Regions from separate parts of the Homo sapiens genome. Here regions 1 and 3 are each linked to region 2. Evidence: promoter capture Hi-C in 16 types of primary human blood cells and fetal thymus (Javierre and others, 2016). All regions are on one chromosome and are shown on one strand. The core of a region is centred on a gene start or on the middle of the fragment in contact, and the rest is flanking DNA. Distances in the headings are between cores, read along the strand shown.

Evidence for each region. The method cuts DNA at HindIII sites, captures the fragments that hold promoters and counts their contacts. A CHiCAGO score of 5 or more calls a contact.
Region 1: a contact is called between a fragment that was not itself captured here and the fragment with the promoter of ITLN1 in region 2, in 4 of 17 cell types (megakaryocytes, erythroblasts, M2 macrophages and 1 more). The highest score is 7.0, in megakaryocytes.
Region 3: a fragment that was not itself captured here is called in contact with the fragment with the promoter of ITLN1 in region 2 in 8 of 17 cell types (total CD8 T cells, naive CD4 T cells, naive CD8 T cells and 5 more); the score reaches 8.8 in total CD8 T cells.

Annotation. Positions count from the first base shown.
Region 1 is chr1:160,929,794-160,932,493 of GRCh38, reverse strand. It overlaps LOC124904441 (a long non-coding RNA gene), which reads left to right. Exons shown (of 2, transcript XR_007066689.1): 2 at 317-848. LOC101928372 (a long non-coding RNA gene) reads right to left here and starts at 29. Exons shown (of 6, transcript NR_110695.1): 1 at 1-29. The HindIII fragment of the contact is 1,228 bases long and covers 658-1,885 here.
Region 2 is chr1:160,882,856-160,886,945 of GRCh38, reverse strand. It overlaps ITLN1 (intelectin 1), which reads left to right and starts at 1,766. Exons shown (of 8, transcript NM_017625.3): 1 at 1,766-1,885; 2 at 2,063-2,126; 3 at 3,420-3,518. The coding sequence starts at 2,069. The HindIII fragment of the contact is 4,692 bases long and covers 1,755-4,090 here.
Region 3 is chr1:160,830,098-160,833,895 of GRCh38, reverse strand. It overlaps CD244 (CD244 molecule), which reads left to right. Exons shown (of 9, transcript NM_016382.4): 8 at 1,321-1,377; 9 at 2,469-3,736. The coding sequence ends at 2,549. Among named protein-coding and RNA genes, the nearest start is that of CD244, 31 kb to the left of the region's middle. The HindIII fragment of the contact is 4,367 bases long and covers 1-3,798 here.

The DNA.
Region 1 (2,700 bases), core at 22-2,521, 46 kb before region 2:
TGCTTTGTGCCCCACTTAAAATTGGCCTAGATGAAAGCAGCAGGCTCACATGTTATATGTGTTGCTTTCAAAATCCAGAGACCAACCCTGACCCAGTATTGTTTTTCACCTTGGAAAGATCATTCTGACATAGAAAATTCACTGATATGGCATATTCTGCATATAGCCTGCCAATTCTTTGGTAATTCCCCCCACCCCACCAAATTTGGGCGGGCTTAGTGACTAAGTTTTCATGAAAAGAATATGGCAGAAGTGTGACCTCTGAGACTGCATCCTAAAAAATGATACAGCTTCTTCCTGGCTTTCTCTTTCTTAGGACTTGTGCCTTCGGATCCTGATTTATTAAGTGAGAAGTCCACTATCCTGAAGCTGCTATGCTGGAGAGACCATGTGAAAAGATCATATAGAAGTAGAAAGATGCCCAAGAAGCCATATATGCTTCTTTCTGTAGCTGTTTCAGTCTGCCCACCCAGGGATCGGACATGTTAGAGAAAGAGTCTTAAAGATTATCCCAACCCCAGCCACCATGTGACTGCAACCTCATGAAAACCCCACACCAGAACAGTGGTATCAGCTCAAACTTTGCAAGGGCTAGGAGACTGAGGGCAGCTGACCAGATTTATGTGATTGAGCCTAATAAACTGGCCTGAGTAAGCTTCCCTGGTTGACAATATTCTGCGAGTATTATCACACACTGGATGTCAGGAAATTAACACTGTCCACAACTCATGGAAAGGACAACTGGGAGTTCTGTGTTTAGAGCTTTCCTGAACTCTGCCCTATGTACCCCTTCCCTTGGCTGATTTTAACCTGTATTCTTAGCTGCAATAAACCGTAACTTTCCATGAGCACTGTGAGTTTGTCTTGTGAATTATTAAACTCACGGGTGGTCTTGGGGTCCCCCCAAGCTGACAATTAATGTCAGAGAGGAGGAGGATATTGGGGGACCCCAACCTTGCAATCGGTGTCAGAAGTGAGGGTGGTCTTGTGGGCTGCTCCTCTAACAATGTATCCAGCATAACCTTGATATGAAAATCTCACAAGAGTATCACAAGAAAAGATAATTATAAGCCAACCACCCTCATGACTGTATATGCAACAATTCTAAACAGGATATTAACAAACCTACATATGAATTTGAGAGGACATAAATGTTCAGATCATAGCATTGCTGAGCATTCTGTATGAATATAGACATAATTCAAGACCAAGACTGATGATTGCTATTGTGAGTTGAACTGTGTTCCCTAAAGTGGTATGTTAAAGTCCTAATCCAAGGTACCTGTGAATGTGACCTTATTTGGAAATGAGATTTTTGCAGATGCAACTATTTAAAATGCAGTTATAGTGGATTAGGGTGGGCCCTAATTCCAATATAACTAATATCCTTATAAGAAGAGAAGAGACACAGATGCAGAAACACACACAGATGGAAGGCAGCTGTATGAAGACGGAGGCAGAGAAGGGAGTTATGTGGCCACAAATCAATAAATACCAAGGATTGGCCAGGCATGGTGCCTCATACCTGTAATCCCAGTACTTTGGGAGGCTGAGGTGGGATGATTGCTTGAGCCCAGGAGTTTGAGACCAGCCTGGGCAAAAAATACAGTGAAACTCCATTTCTATCAAAACCAAAAGCAAACAAACAAAAAACCCAAGGATTGCTTTCTACCTGAAGCTGGATGAGGCAAGAGAAGATCCTCCTGCAGAGTCTTTGGACAGAGCACAGTCCTGCTGATGCCTTAATTTTGGACTTCTCACCTCTGAAATAGAGTAATTTCTTAAAAAGCCACCTAGGTTGTGACAATTTGTTATGGCAACCCTAGGAAACTGACACAATTGTGTCATTGTTTTTTTCTCTCTACTAGTTTTAAAATTGTAAGCTTTTTTTCTATCCTTTTAGTGGCTGCTCTAGAACTAACAGCAGGCTTCATGAATGTTTTCTAATCACAAATTTGTGTGTTTATTTCTTTTAAAAGCATTAATTGCGAGCCTATTATGTGCCAGAACATATTCTAGATGCTGGGGATATAGCAACAAGTCAGGTACACATTTCTGCCTTTCTGGAGATTGTACCCTAGTACCAGGAAATATACAATATGCTATAAAAATAAATAATAGAATGTCAAGTTTTTATTTATTTATTTATTTTTATTTTTTTAAACCAGGTCTCCTTATGTTGCCCAGCTGTTCTTGAACTCCTGGGCTCAAATGATCCCCCCGCTTCAGCCTCCCAAAGTGCTGGGATTACAGGCATGAGCCACCACACCCAGACTAGAATGTTAAGTTTGAAAAGTGCTATGGAGAAAAAGAAAGTTGAGTAGCGACATAGATATATTGGGGGTGGTGGTGGTTTACAACTTTAATAGATCTTTAAAGAAGACTTCAGTGAGAAGGTGACATTGAGGAAGGATCTGAAGAAGGTGAGGGATTGAGCCATAAAGTACCAGGCAGAGGGAATAGCAACTGCCAAGGTATTGAGATGGGAGTATCTTCACTGCGTTCAGGGAGCTGCAGGGAGATTTGGCTAGCAGAAGCTGCATAAGTATGGAGGAAAGCAGCAGGTCATGACAGCACAAAGGTAAGATGGGAGCAGATTGTGTAGGATATTGTGGGCCTTCTGGGCAAGACTAGAAGCCTTCAGAGAGGTCTGAGTAGGAGGGTAGCCTGATTTAACAGGATGACTTTGGCTGTGTTGAG
Region 2 (4,090 bases), core at 517-3,016:
GGGGATGTTTAATTTTTTTCTCTAGATCTTGGGCCCTTGGTGTTAACTTTATATACATGTATTTACTATTGTGAACTGTAAACTTAGAGACCTCTATTTTTTTTTTTTTTTTTTGAGATGGAATTTCACTCTTGTTGCCCAGGCTGGAGTGCAATGGTGCGATCTCAGCTCACTGCAACCTCTGCCTCCCGGGTTCAAGCAATTCTCCTGCCTCAGCCTCCCGAGTAGCTTGGATTACAGGCGCCTGACACCGTGCCCAGCTAATTTTATATTTTTAGTAGAGACACGGTTTCACCGTGTTGATCAGGCTGGTCTTGAACTCCTGACCTCAAGTGATTGGCCACCCTCGTCCCCTCAAAGTGCTGGGATTACAGGTGTAAGCCGCAGCGCCTGGCTGAGACCTCTATTTCTAAGAGGTTGTTGTTTGTAAATATGAAAGCTGGGTATGTTCATTTTGTTACCTATACTGATGAGTTAATTTAGTTTCTAATACATTTAATTTTATTTAATTAATTATTTTCCAGATACACAGAGCAAATAGCTTCTAATAGATTTTAAATTTACAAAAGTATAACTTTTTTTTGCAGTTTTTCTTCTTGGGTGCTATTTTATTTTCTTCTATCAATATGTGAGTATTTTTTGCAAATCAGTACTTTGAACCAACAAATAGGAAATATTAGCTTAACAAAAAAGATATTCACAATCTTTGTAAGAAAAGGTTGCAGTATTATTAATGCTATAATGACATTATGTATTAAATGTATGATATCACTGGGGAAGAACTGAGTAATTCTATTACAGCTGCAGGGTAGCATTTGAGAACTTCATGACATAGGAGCAGGAATAAGACAGGAGGTTCGAAGCAGCAGAGAGGTTTCGTATTGATTCAGTTTCAAATGAATCCTGTAGTAAATTTTCCCTCGTTTGTGGCAAAATGACAAAATTAAAGACAAAGTAGTGAGTCTTTGTGTGAAACTAAATTATTCAAACTAAAGATTTATATATTTTTTAAAACTTTTCTATTCGTATTTTTTTGTGTGTTTTGTATCTCTTTCCCCTCCATTCCTTTTTACCAATTTATTCAGAAATGATCACTTTCCCATTTTGTTAAAATTTCCTTTTTCTATTTCTATGAATTGATAATTATGGCCAATGATTAATTTCATTTATTTATTTATTTTGAGATACCTAAGCTGAAGTACAGTGGCACGGTCATATTTCACTGAATCCTCTATCTCTGGGACTTAAGTTACCCTTTTGCCTTGCCTCAGCCCCACCTGAAACTATAGGCAAGTACCACCATGCCATGCTAATTTTTTTACTTTTATTTTTAGTAGAGAAGAGGTTGCCCTATGTTGCCCAGGCTGGTCTCAAACTCCTGAGTTCAAGTGATCCTTCTGCCTTGGCCTCCCAAAGTATTGGGATTTGAGCCAATGTGCCAAGCCAACAGATGCTTAATTTAGAGAAAGTTTTTATTTTGCAAGAAAGAAAGGCACAAAAACCCAAAACCAACACCAACTCTTGTTAATCTCTTCGTCTACTTCCTACTTGACACAGGTCCATGAAACCCCCAGATCCAGGAACAACGCTAGCAGGTGATTCTTAGGATTGGTTTTTTCTTTAGAACCTGTTAATTCCACTGTATAAATAACCTCCCCGAGATAACCAGAAGCCTCCCCTGCACTGGGCATTGTGCCAGGGGAGGGTGAGGCTGGAAACCTTGGTTGGCCCCACTGGGCTTCCTCCATAAAGCTTTCTGCACCTCATTCCACATCAGGAGCGTTTTTGGAGAAAGCTGCACTCTGTTGAGCTCCAGGGCGCAGTGGAGGGAGGGAGTGAAGGAGCTCTCTGTACCCAAGGAAAGTGCAGCTGAGACTCAGACAAGGTCTGTGAGTTGGGGGAATCCTGTTTTCAGCTTAGGTCTGCTTTTGGTCTCAGAGATGTGTGAAGTTTAAACAAAAGGCAAGGGGTTTTGGAGTCTTTGTAAGACTGGACAGGGGTGGGGCAGGGATGTAGAGAAAAATGATGGCCAAGATGGTGACCTTCATCTTGCTTTCTTTAGATTACAATGAACCAACTCAGCTTCCTGCTGTTTCTCATAGCGACCACCAGAGGATGGAGTACAGGTGAGTCACGCTGCTAGGGACAGCAGTTCCTTCAGCTGGATGACTTCCGGGATCCTGGTCTCTCCCAGGACACAGAGCATGTCCTTGAGATGCACAGCGGCTGGCTTGCATGTAGACTGAGTGCCGATTTCTGGTCTCTGGCGGAATCTGGCCTGTGGCAGTGAAGGTATTGCTTGAGGCATGTCCTGGGTCCAGGCTCTGTGCTTTTGTGTGGCCCTGAGGGGGCTGTGGCAAGAACTGTGTCACCTTCCAGCCACTGCCCACTCCTGTGGCCTTGGCTGTGGGATTTCCATGGGAACTACATGGTCTGCTTTGTGCCTGGAGAATGTTCTCTCCACAGTTTTCCTCTCTACAACAAGAATAACAATGACATTTTAAAATTTATATTTTTCTTCACGTCTAAAAATTTTTTTTTTAAAGAAAAGGCTGTTTCGAAATATCTTCTTACTTCATCTTTGCAAAAGCACTGTTTATTAACTGTGTTTTAGGTATGAGGAAACTGAGGTCAGTCACCTCTGACCTCACAGCTTTCCCCTAGACTGTTCGAATAGTTTGCAGACTTTTTGGAGTAGAGATTAGTCTCACCACTCCCTACTTCACACCCCATGTTTCAGCCATATTAAGCAGCTTGTAGTTCTACAGCTGGACTACGCTGTATTTTTTTTTTTTTCTCTAGGCCTTTGGATATGCTGTTTTCCCTGCCTTGGATTGGCTTCCTACTGATAAATCATGTTTATTCTCTCAGAATAAGCTAAGATGTCACCTGGACTGGAAGGTCTTCTGTGACTAAGACATGAGACAACCCGTCTTGCCTTCTTCTCCCAGGCAACTGCCCCGCTTACTGTCTGGCGTTTCCATTCTCCACTGTTACCTCAGAGTCTTTCTTTTGTTCTCTTGAGTTTGCCTTTCTTCTACCATTTATTCTTGTCAATACAATTTTCTGTTGACTTGTTAGCAATTCCCTCTAGAGGCAAGCTCTTGCTGGGGAACTTTAATGTCTTTGATTACTCAGTGCTTAGGGCAGGACCCAGCACAAGGACAGGTCTTGTGGCGGGAGGCAGACTTTAAGCCTGTGCTGGCTGTCAGGTCGGATGGGCTGAGTGGATATGATGCCGATGGGCTGAGTGGATGTGACACTGATGGGCTGAGTGGATATGACACTGGCTGTCTCAGGCCTTACCACCCGGGCAGCGAGGTTCTGCTACAGTGGTGGAATGAGCGTGGGACTAGTGATAGGAGAGGGTAGGTTTTGTGTCAAACCGGGAATGAGAATAAACCCTGTGTATTCCCTAGATGAGGCTAATACTTACTTCAAGGAATGGACCTGTTCTTCGTCTCCATCTCTGCCCAGAAGCTGCAAGGAAATCAAAGACGAATGTCCTAGTGCATTTGGTGAGTGATGAAACATTCAAACAGAGCTCAGTCAGGGTATCAGGATTGTGTCTTCTGGGAGTCTTTTTGTCTTTTAGTTAAAAAATTATGGTAAAGTATATGTATATTATAATTTACATAAGATTTGCCATTTTAAGCAACATTAAGTGTGCAATTCAGTGGCATTAATTACCTTCAAGGTTGTGCAACCATCACAGCTATCCATATGCAGAACTTTTTCAGTGCCCCAAACAGAAACTCTGTACTTAATAACATGGAGGGGCCGGGTGCGGTGGCTCAGGCCTGTAATCCCAGCACTTTAGGAGGCTGAGAGGGGTGGATCAGTTGAGGCCAGGAGTTTGAAACCAGCTTGGCTAACATGGTGGGGCCCTGTCTCTACTAAAATACAAAAATCAATTGGGTGTGGAGTACATGTTTGTAATTCCAGCTACTTGGGAGGCTGAGGTGGGAGGATCGCTTGAACTCAGGAGGCAGAGGTTGCAGTGGGCCAAGATAGTGCCACTTCACTCCAGCCTGGGCAACAGAGTGAGACTCCATCTCAAAAACAAAAACAAAAACAAAACAAAACAAAA
Region 3 (3,798 bases), core at 613-3,112, 53 kb after region 2:
TGGGCCAATGAGAAATGCCTTACTGGTTCTGTCTGGAGAAAAATAACAGCTTCTAGACTAAGAGAACAGTAGACTAGATGAGTTTTTGGGAGTTTCTGTGGGAGGTAAAGGACAGTCAGAGACAGAAAGGAGGTGCTTTGCACAGAGAGACTACGGGGTACTTAGTAGGTCAGCTGAGGCTATGGTGAGAGATACTGGAGGGGTTTGCAAGGCAGGGCATATTGCCTGGAGCTGGAGGAGTAGACTGGATCTAGAGAGACACAATCTTGACCTTCAGAGACCAGAGAAAGGTCCTGGCCAGTCAGTCACCTGCTGGTGGAGGCCTCTGGACTGAGGCAACCCATCCTTTTGCACTGAAATCCTTCTCCAAGCTGAGTTCGTAGCTCTCTTGTGTACTTGGAAACAGAGTTGGGTATCCTGGTACACATGGTCATTGTTTTTCTCTTGTATGGAAGGGGATGGGAAGAGTGGTGTTCCCAAGGCTGGAGCCACAGTGTGAAGCCAGAAAGCCTTAACATGGTAGTATGGGAATTTGGGAGTCCACACAACTGTGGAAGTCCATGCAGGTCAGGGACCACAGGTTTGAAGGGGTTTAGGACAGATTTTCAGACTTTTCATTCAACCTCCTTCCAATAAGCCATTCAACCTACTTGGATCCCATCGTGAGAGAGATTTGTTTTTAATTATATGCTACAATATAAGGCCATATAGATGTTCACAGGCACCATGTTCACCTGCTTTGGTGTATGTAAACTCTATATGCTACTGAATGTGCCTCTGAATTCTAGTGTCCTTGGGTTGGCAATTATTTATATGCCTGGATTGTTTACATTAAGGGTGTGTGTATGCATGCGTTGAAGAGATACATGGTTTGGGGCAGTATTTGCATTAGGATTGCCTGAGGGATATGTGTGTATGTGTATGTGTATGTGTATGTGTATGTGTGTGTGCTCTGGGAATGTGTGTGTGTATATATATACACAAATATGTATATATATGTGTGTGTGTATATATATATATATATACACACACACACACATATGTGTATGGGTTTTAGGTGTATGTGGGTATGGAACAGCAAATTCTGATTTTGGTTCAGAAATATCATATTATAGGCAAATACTGTATATATTGTGTCTTCCCTGGAGACCATAAACACCATTGTTTTGCTCCTAGGGTGACAGATTCTATTCATTTTCTGGCTGAGAGTGCCTCAGAATTTTTCTGGGCCCTGAGTCTCTTTTGGGACCTCTCACATCACTTAGGAGTGGGAGAGCACTTATCTCGAAGTTAAGTATTCTTTACCTTCTGAATTTCTAGTCTGGATCCAGGAAGAGGAACCACAGCCCTTCCTTCAATAGCACTATCTATGAAGTGGTAAGATTCTGGAACTCCTCAATGGGTTTACTGTCTGTTGCATAGCCCTGAAATCTAGCCATGAAAGGGTACACTTAGGAAAAGATCATTCACACAGTCTCAGAGTTGTAGGGAATTTAGAGATCTTCTAATGCAAGTCTTTGTTTTAGAGATGAAGACACTGAAGCCCAAGGAGAGTGAGGGTCTGACCCAAGATCATATTGCGTGTTTAGATATGATACTTACTGGGCAGCTTGGGTTTTAAATTAGGGCCGTCCCCGAGCTAGTTCCCAGGCTGTGGGCCACAAACTGGACATCTCTCCTTTCCAAGAGTGTTCGGAGGAGGGGTCAGAGAGGGGAAGATAAAGGACTCTAAATGATTTTCTAAAATTAGCAAGTCTTTGGGAGCCATTCCAGGACATAGGTGAGCTTAATCTTCTTCAGGGGTCAACACTGTTCAGAGATGACCACTGAGCCTGGTGGTTGAATTGATTCCCATCAGAGCATTTAGGGACTGGAAAGGAGGGACTCAACATTTCTTGGGGGTTTATTATGGATAAGGTAGCCTGCCAGTGTCTTCACATGGATTATTTTATTTAGTCCTCACAGAATGCTACAAGATAGGTATAATTATACTTTCCATTTATACTCAGAGAAATTAAGGCATGGAGAGCATCCCCCAACCTCCCCCACTACCCATTAGCCTCATACTACACCTGAGCCTCCCCACCTGTGGTCCAATAAAGATGCTGCCATTGGTCAGAAGGGAGGGATGGGTGGCTGCCTGCTGGAATTCCTGGCACTTCAGCTATCACCCAACATTAAAGCCAACTGGACAACCCAGGGTCATAGAGGGCACTGTGTAGACCCAGGTAGCTTGTGAGGTCATGAAAAAGCATATGTGGTTAAGAGAGTACTGGAATTGGAGCCAGAAGAACTAGATTCAAGTCCCTCCTGCACTTCACACTAGTCGTGGATCCTGAGTAATTTGTTTTGTCACTCTGAGCTTCATTTTTTAAATCTGTAAAATGGGGATGGCAAGTCATACCTCACAGGATTGTGATAAGGACCTCCCAGTGCAAGGGTCTGAAGTTTCTCCTTTTCTTTTGCAGATTGGAAAGAGTCAACCTAAAGCCCAGAACCCTGCTCGATTGAGCCGCAAAGAGCTGGAGAACTTTGATGTTTATTCCTAGTTGCTGCAGCAATTCTCACCTTTCTTGCACATCAGCATCTGCTTTGGGAATTGGCACAGTGGATGACGGCACAGGAGTCTCTATAGAACAGTTCCTAGTCTGGAGAGGATATGGAAATTTGTTCTTGTTCTATATTTTGTTTTGAAAATGATGTCTAACAACCATGATAAGAGCAAGGCTGTTAAATAATATCTTCCAATTTACAGATCAGACATGAATGGGTGGAGGGGTTAGGTTGTTCACAAAAGGCCACATTCCAAGTATTTGTAATCTAGAAAGTGTTATGTAAGTGATGTTATTAGCATCGAGATTCCCTCCACCTGATTTTCAAGCTGTCACTTGTTTCCTTTTCTCCCCTCTCTGGGTTGACTGCATTTCTAGACTCTCGCCGGCCCAGGCCCATCTTCCAAAGCAAGAGGAAGGAATGATAATGGTGACTCAGGGGAAGAAGAAACAGCCCTCCTCTGAAAGCCTGGACTGTCCGGCTGTGAACTGGCTGGCAGGTTCTGCACGTGGGTGGGGGCCAGGGCCTGGGCTTTACTCAATTGCAGAGAAAAAACTTTCTCCCTGCATCTCATACCTTTACCTCTGGCCAGTTGGCCACCAGGGGGAGTGGGCTGAAGGGAGAGTAGATGGTGCAAAGCAAGCCCATCTCTAAGTAGAAAAATCACCCAGAGCACATGCTGACCTGATAACTGGGGTGTTGAGACCAGCTTTGTCCATGGTATGATGTTTGATTTATGAAGACGCATTGTTAGAAATCCATTTGGCTTCTTCATAGAAGTGGCTTCCCAGAGGAAGAGGCCTCTCAGAAACCATGTTCTATTTAAGTTCTGAGTCCTGATGAGTGTTCCCCAGGATGCACATTGAAGGGAGGGCTCAGGCAGCTGAGGGCTGAGAATGAGGCAGTTGGAATCTAGACACTATGCTGGGTTCCCTGAGTCGTCAGGCCAGACATTTCAACAAGGCTGTGGGGAGCAGGGCTGTGACTCTGGCTGAGCCCAGGAAAGCGACAAGGGTGAACTGGGAGAGGACTTACTCAGAGACCCCAACAGGTGATACTGCACAAAGCCTGGTTCTTCAATTTTCCTACCCTGTATCTAACATAGGAGTTTCATATAAAACGGTGATATCATGCAGATGCAGTCTGAATTCCTTGCCTGAATTAAATTTATGTATCCTCTCCATACCCTGCATTTTTATTCTCTATAGCAGCCGAAGGGCACTTGTGGGCCATCAACAAACACAT